Linked DNA regions of Homo sapiens: region 1 is linked to region 2. The links are contacts of gene promoters, found by promoter capture Hi-C in blood cells and fetal thymus (Javierre and others, 2016). All regions are on one chromosome and are shown on one strand. Each heading gives the region's core, a stretch centred on a gene start or on the middle of the fragment in contact. The rest is flanking DNA. Distances are from core to core; before and after follow the strand shown. Region 1 holds the start of CDC42EP2 (CDC42 effector protein 2). Region 2 overlaps VPS51 (VPS51 subunit of GARP complex).

Evidence for each region. Contacts are between HindIII fragments. The CHiCAGO score rates a contact against its expected background, and 5 or more counts as called.
Region 1: a contact is called between the fragment with the promoter of CDC42EP2 here and a fragment that was not itself captured in region 2, in 1 of 17 cell types (megakaryocytes). The highest score is 5.1, in megakaryocytes.

What each region holds. Positions count from the first base shown.
Region 1 is chr11:65,313,444-65,316,801 of GRCh38, reverse strand. CDC42EP2 (CDC42 effector protein 2) reads right to left here and starts at 1,936. Exons shown (of 2, transcript NM_006779.4): 1 at 1,848-1,936. It overlaps LOC105369344 (a long non-coding RNA gene), which reads left to right and starts at 2,113. Exons shown (of 3, transcript XR_007062727.1): 1 at 2,113-3,031. RefSeq lists silencers at 979-1,138, 1,309-1,438, 1,899-2,278. The HindIII fragment of the contact is 12,136 bases long and covers 1-3,358 here.
Region 2 is chr11:65,101,092-65,104,538 of GRCh38, reverse strand. The region is part of intron 2 of VPS51 (VPS51 subunit of GARP complex); the gene reads right to left. Among named protein-coding and RNA genes, the nearest start is that of VPS51, 6.6 kb to the right of the region's middle. RefSeq lists a silencer at 2,008-2,302. The HindIII fragment of the contact is 219 bases long and covers 2,000-2,218 here.

The DNA.
Region 1 (3,358 bases), core at 687-3,186, 210 kb before region 2:
GCATCAGCGGCCCAGGGGAGAGCTGGGAATTACAACCCTCACGCCCCAGGAATTTAGATTTGGCAACTGCAAGACCCTAGGATCCAGCTTGCCACGCACAGTTTCTCATCTTAAAGCTCCCAGTCACGGCATGGTGGGGTCATTACGGCCCTTTACAGAAGTCGAAGCTGAACCTCAGAGATGTTAAGTAACATTGGCGACGTCATCCAGTTAGGAAGTGGAAGAGTGGGTACCCAGCCTGGTCCACGTGGTTCCCATGCAGTGGGCCACGCCTACTTCCATAATATGTTTGGGGAGCGGGAGAGAAAGGGGCTCACAGCTAGGCTGGGAACAGTGGGTCCCCAGATCTCCTCCATCTACATCCTGACCTTTGGCTGCCCCCGTCTGCCCAACTTTCATGTGTCCAGAGATATGAGAATGAGGTCTCCATCAGGACAGGGCTGTGGGGAGCTGGGAGGGGAGCTCCCTGCAGCAGTCGGGGAGCAGATAGGAGCATCCTAGCTCTCTGTGATTGCCCTGGACAGGAGCCCTGGACCTCCCAATGAGAAAATGACTTCCGGCAGGCAGGGATCCTCCTATCATGAAGAATATTAGGCCACCTCACACCCCCTCTTCTCCTAAATCAGGAGACTGTCCTTAAATCCAGCTCCACCTGGGACTTCCTCAGTAACCTTCAGCAAGACGCCTCTCCTCTCTGGGTCTCACCTTTCCCATCTATAAAATGGGCTGACAACGAAGCCACCACTAAAGGGCCACTGGAGATCCCACTGCAATATTGCAGGTGAGAGCGCCAATGTACAATAGCGGGGTTCAGCGGGTCACTGTAGGTTTTATCATTCATTCAGCAAATATCTACAAGGCCTTCCTTCCTCAAGCACTTCGATTCTCCGGGGCCAGTGCTTTGAACAATAGCAAAAACGAAGGGCTCCTGACCCCAGGCGTCCACCTCCTCCCGCCCTCCTAGACCTCGAGGATGCAGAGACCCTCTAGCGGCCGCTGGGTCTCCCGGGGTCCCGGTGCCTCCGGAGAGGTGCCCGGCTCCGCGGCCGCCAGGTGGCGCGCGTGCTCCCTTGATCGCCTCGTGTCCCGGAGGACTCCGAGAGCGCACCGGGGTCTCCAGCGCCCCTCCCCCGGGCTCCAGGCAGGCGGTCCCCAAGGAGCTGCGCGTTCAAGTACCAGATGGGGATTACCTGCGAGATCTTTTTGCTTCGGGGTTTCTGGTCCCACAATCGGGGAAAAAGGGGGCGATTGGGGACCCTGCCCTAGTCTCCAAGCTCTGGGAGGAGCCTCCCCCCTGTGCTTTCCGGCCTGGGCGATGTCCTAGTGTCCGCTCGGCACAGGGCCAGAGCTCGGGCGTGCGGGCCCCCGCCCCTCCCACGGGTCCGGCTCCTTAGCTCCGGCTCGGGTTCCTGCGCCGACCCCTCCCCACTCCTACCCGGGCGGAGCCCAGCCCAGCCCGGATCCGTTTCAGGACATTCGCGGCCGCAGCTAAAGATAGGAGAACAACTCACTATCGGCTAAAAATACGGCCCCCAGCCCCGGTGGGGATGCTGGGCGGCGGGGCACCCCTGGGTCTCGGGAGGGGGGCGGGGGCCCGGACACAAAATGGAGGGCAGAACGGGGAATTCGGGGTCGGGATGCGTTGCGCCCCCACGGACCGTGGCGGGCACGGGCGAGGCTGCGGGAACCCAGATGCGGGTGGGAAGCCCCATGGAGCCCTAGGAGCCCTCGAAAGGAACTGAGTGAGGTGAGAGGCAGAGCCAGGGCGCGAGCTGGGGCGGGGCGCCACAGAGATGGGCCTCTCGGGGGACCCCCGCGAAGCTGCGAAAATCCCAGCCCGAACTCACCGTGAGGCGCGCAGACGGCAGACCGGCGGACAGCAAGGTCTCAGGAGCTGGACAGCGCGGCGGCCGGACCCGACCGGCGGTGAACTTACAGAGTGCACCGCGGACCCCGCAGCCCCGCCCCGGCCCGCGGAGCCAATGCCGGGGCCGCGCCAGCCAAGCCCCTCCCCATCCCCGCCCAGGCCCCGCCCCACTCCGGGCACCGCCCGGGGCTCCCGGCGTGGGAGGTGCCGCTCCCGGGTCCAGCGGTCGCGCGCGCCCTGGAGTCCTGTCCTGGTTCTGGCGGCTGAGGGCCGGGTGGCGCAGGCGGCCTCCGGCTGTGCCCATGGGAACTAAAACCTTCGGTTCTAGAAGAGCCGGGGGAGAGGCTCCGGGAAGACCGAATTCTTCAGAAATCGCAGAGAGACCTTGGACCGGATCCTTCCCTGCAGGGCTGCGTCGGGGAAGCGCCGGCACAAGTATATTCAGCGACTTCCTTGGAAGCGCCTACGTTAGAATACTACAAACTTACAAGCTAGTTGATCAGTTTACCTCCCACTAGAAAAGACAGTATGGGAAGGCAGAGGCCGCGTGGCCTGGACCCCCGTCTTTGCTGTCAGGCTTCCAGAGTGAAGGTGGGGCTCATATTCAGACTAGTTCCTGGTCCATTCATTCTTTCAGTCAGTCAGTCAGTCATTCCTACAGGGCCAGAAACTTTTTTTTTTTTTGAGACAGAGTTTCGCTCTTGTTGCCCAGACTGCTCACCGCAACCTCCGTCTCCTGGGTTCAAGAGATTCTCCTGCCTCAGCCTCCCGAGTAGCTGGGATTACAGGCATGTGCCAGCACACCTGGCTAATTTTTGTATTCTTAGTAGAGACGGAGTTTCTCCATGTTGGCCAGGCTGGTCTCGAATTCCCGACCTCAAGTGATCTGCCCGCCTCGGCCTCCCGAAGTGCTGCAATTACAGGCGTGAGCCACCGCGCCCGGCCCAGAAACATGTTTTGAAGGGCAGGCACCGCACAGGGTGCTGGAGACAGACTGAAGGAAACTGCACCTCTCAGTGACTCAAGAGAGATTTGTTGAGTATCTACCAAGTGCCTAGCGCTGTTCTTGTCCCTGGGGATTCAGCCTCTGGATTGGGACCTGCAGCCCAGAGAAGGGAAATGGGGGAAATCCAAGTTCCCAGGTACATCATGATACCCTTCCAGGTGGGTAAGTGCTAAGAAGAGTGGGGCAGAGGAAGTGGTGGGTAGTGACGGGGTGGACAGACCTCACTTTCTAGAGGATGACAGCTATGCCAGCTCAGTGTGACCAGGATGGTTGGCTTCAATGCTGTCAGTGTGGGAAGGGCTTTTAGGGAGGCAGAGCCGGGAAGACCTCAGTGGGGGAGGCAGGATGCTGGGGGTGGGGGAAGATGCCAGACAAGCTGGGAGGTCCGGATGGGAAGAAGGGGATCATGGTAGGTAAAATAACAGCCCCCCTAAATATGTTCACATCTAGCCAGGTGCTGTGGCTCATGCCTATAATCCCAGCAC
Region 2 (3,447 bases), core at 860-3,359:
TCATAATAATTTGCCATGTTAATAGATATTTCAACATCTATTCTTGATTTTTAAAAAACTCTCAATAACATATGAGCAGCTAAATATTTCCCTGACCTCCAAAACTCAGTATCATGTTTACCGAGGCAGTGCTAGAAGCACTCCAATTAAAGTCAAAACATGGCAAGGACAACCTTGATTGCCAATGTTATCTACATTGTTCTGGGGCATTAGCCAACTCAGCTAGAGTCACGAGATGTATTATGGAGATACACAAATTGGAAAGGAGGGAGAAGTATCACTATTTGCAGATGATATAATCAAATAAATAGGCCAGCCACGGTAGCTCATGCCTGTAATCCCAGCACTTTGGGAGGCCGAGGCAGGCAGATCACTTGACGTCAGGAGTTTGAGACCAGCCTGGCCAACATGGTAAAACCCTGTCTCTAGTAAAAATACAAAAAGTAGTTGGGCGTGGTGGCAGGTGCCTGTAATCCTAGCTACTGGGAAGGCTGAGGCAGGAGAATCGCTTGAACCCTGGAGGCACAAGTTGTAGTGAGCTGAGATTGTGCCACTGCACTCTAACCTGAGTAATAGAGCAACACTCTGTCTCAAATAATAATAATTGAATAAATAGAAAGCCCTAAAAAAAAAAAACAAAAAAAAACACCCTGTAAACGTTACTATAAACAATAAGAGATACCACTTTTCACTTCTCAGATTGTCAAAGATTGAAAGAGGTATTCTCTTCTTTGCTGGTGGTTATGCAAACTGATCAGCATTTACAAAGAAGAATCTGGAAATATCTAACTGCAATCACTTGTGAGCCTTCACACACCCACACCTGGTCTGTGTGTGGCTCTGGGACTGTAGGAATGTTCTCCAAGCAACACTGGGAATCTACCCCACTTGGGGAGACAGCTGGAAGGGTGAGTAAGGAGAAAAGCATTGATGTCAATTTGACAAGAAACAAACAGAAACAAAAAATGCAGGAAAAAAATATTAGAGAAAATATAAGAGAAAGAACTGTCTGAGACAAAGAATCTACAGGGCTCACATCTGTAGAGCTATTAAGGGATTTTTTAAAAAATTACATGGAAAGGTAGATTACGTATCAGCAAAATGGACTTTTCATTTTAACAACACAGTCCACAAGAAAGGATCATTTAGCCCTCTTAGAGATGATTTCATAGAAAGGAAGGTTACTAAGGAATAAAATCACATGATGTGAAACATCTATATTACTTTTGGGACCATAGGGACCATTGCCTGCATTTTGTTGGGGAAATCATAATTATTTTGAGTTTCTTTGCTTGAGATAGGGTCTTGCTCTGTCTACAGGCATGGTGATGCACACTTATAATCCCAGCTACTCAGGAGGCTAAGGCAGGAGAATCACCTTAACTGGGGAGGCGGAGGTTACAGTGAGCCAAGATGGCATGCAGTGGTGCAAACACAGCTTACTGCAGCCTTGAACTCTGGGGCTCAAGTGATCCTCCTACCTTAGCTTCTGAAGTAGCTGGGACTACACACAAGCGCCATCACACCCGGCTAATTTTTTAATTTTTGTTTAAATTTTGTGTAGAGATGGGGTCTCTCTATGTTGCCCAGGCTGGTCTCAAACTTCTGGGCTCAAGCAATGCTCCCACTTCAGCCTCCCAAAGTGCTGGGAGCACAGGAGTGAGCCACTGTGCCTGGCAAGAAAATTTTTCTTGCCAATTCATAGATGGTGAACTAAAGGACATAGCAAAGGCAGCGCTATGCAGTGAAAAACAATAAAAGCAGAGCCGAGGCTGAGGTTCGTAAAGGGATCATGGGCTACTGATCTAAGGGAGACAGACAGAGGCTTGGCAGTTGATGAGGCATTTGGTCTTCACCCAGTGAATTACTGGTTTTGTTTACAGGCCATGTGACACAATCTCCTTCCAGGTCTGCCAAAAGCTACCATGAAAAGAGCAGACTCTTTTGGTAGTGGGTGTTTGAGCCCATGACACTTAGGGGCTACCTCAAGAAGGAAGCTTGAATCCAACTTCTAAAGGGTAAAATCCAAACACTAAGTTGTTAGGAAAATAGAGTAAAAGAAAACCCAACAGTGCTGTGTGCTGTCATTGTCGCTGCCTTCCCAGCCATGGAGCCATTACACTGGAGATAAAAGTTGTACCATATCCAAAAACAACAGTGAAAGCATCCACACCATTCAGTCACAAAGACTACACTGTTTATCTTTGCATTTCAAGCTTGTTAAGAAAAGCAGGCTGGGCACAGTGGCTCACGCCTGTAACCCCAGCACTTTGGGAGGCCAAGGCAGGTGGATCACCTGAGGTCACCTGCCTGACCAACATGGTGAAATCCCGTCTCTACTGAAAATACAATAATTAGCCAAGTGTGGTGGCAGGTGCCTGTAATCCCAGGTACTTGGAAGCCTAAGACAGGAGAATCACTTGAACCCCGGAGGCGGAGGTTGCAGTGAGCCGATTGGGCCACTGCACTCTAGCCTGGATGACAGAGCAAGACTCTGTCTCAAAAAAAAAAAAAAAAAAAAGCTTGTTAAGAAAAGCAGTTTGTAACCAGGGAGAGTGAAAGCCATCTGGATGCGAGGATGTTGGCTACCTTGGGAGGGGACTGGGTGGTAACTGGTAGGAGGCTCAGGGGGCTTTGCTGGTTATGCTGTTTCCCGACCTGGATGCTGATTATGTGACTGTGCTCCCTTTGTGAAATCCATGGAGCTGTCCACTTATGTGCACTTTTCTGTATGTCTGTTAATTTTCTTTTTTTTTTTTTTTTTTTTTTTTTTTTTGAGACAAGGTCTGGCTCTGTCACCCAGGCTGGAGTGCAGTGACACAATCTTGGCTTACTGCAACCTCTGCCTCCCAGGTACAAGCCTTCCACCTCAGCTTCCTGAGCAGCTCGGACTACAGGGACACAACACCACACCCAGCTAATTTTTGTATTTTTTGTAGAGACAGGTATAACCTGTTGGCCAGGATGGTCTCGAACTCCTGAGCTCAAGCAATCTGCCTGCCTCTGCCTCACAAAGTGTTGGGATTATAGGTATGAGCCATAATCCCACCTGGGCTCTGTTAATTTTCAGTGAAATGTACTGTCAAAGACTGCTTTGTCTTTGCCTAGAGAAAAGAATTAGGAGAGGCTTTTCCCTGTATAATGTTTGAGATCTTTCTAATTTTGACACAAGTAAATGCATTATTACATAATGAAACTCAATGTCTAGGTGAGAGGTTGGCAAACTACAGCCTGCAGGCCAAATCTGGCTCAATGCCTGGTTTTCTTTTTAATTGGGATATAATTGACATACCAATTCAGTGGTTTTTAATATGTTTAATATATTCACAAGGTTGTACAACCAACCTCACTACGTAATTCCAGAACATTTCATCATCCCCTAAAGAAACCCTGTAACCCTTGGCAGTCATTCCTTATTCCCCCACTCCTAGAACTTGGCAACCATTA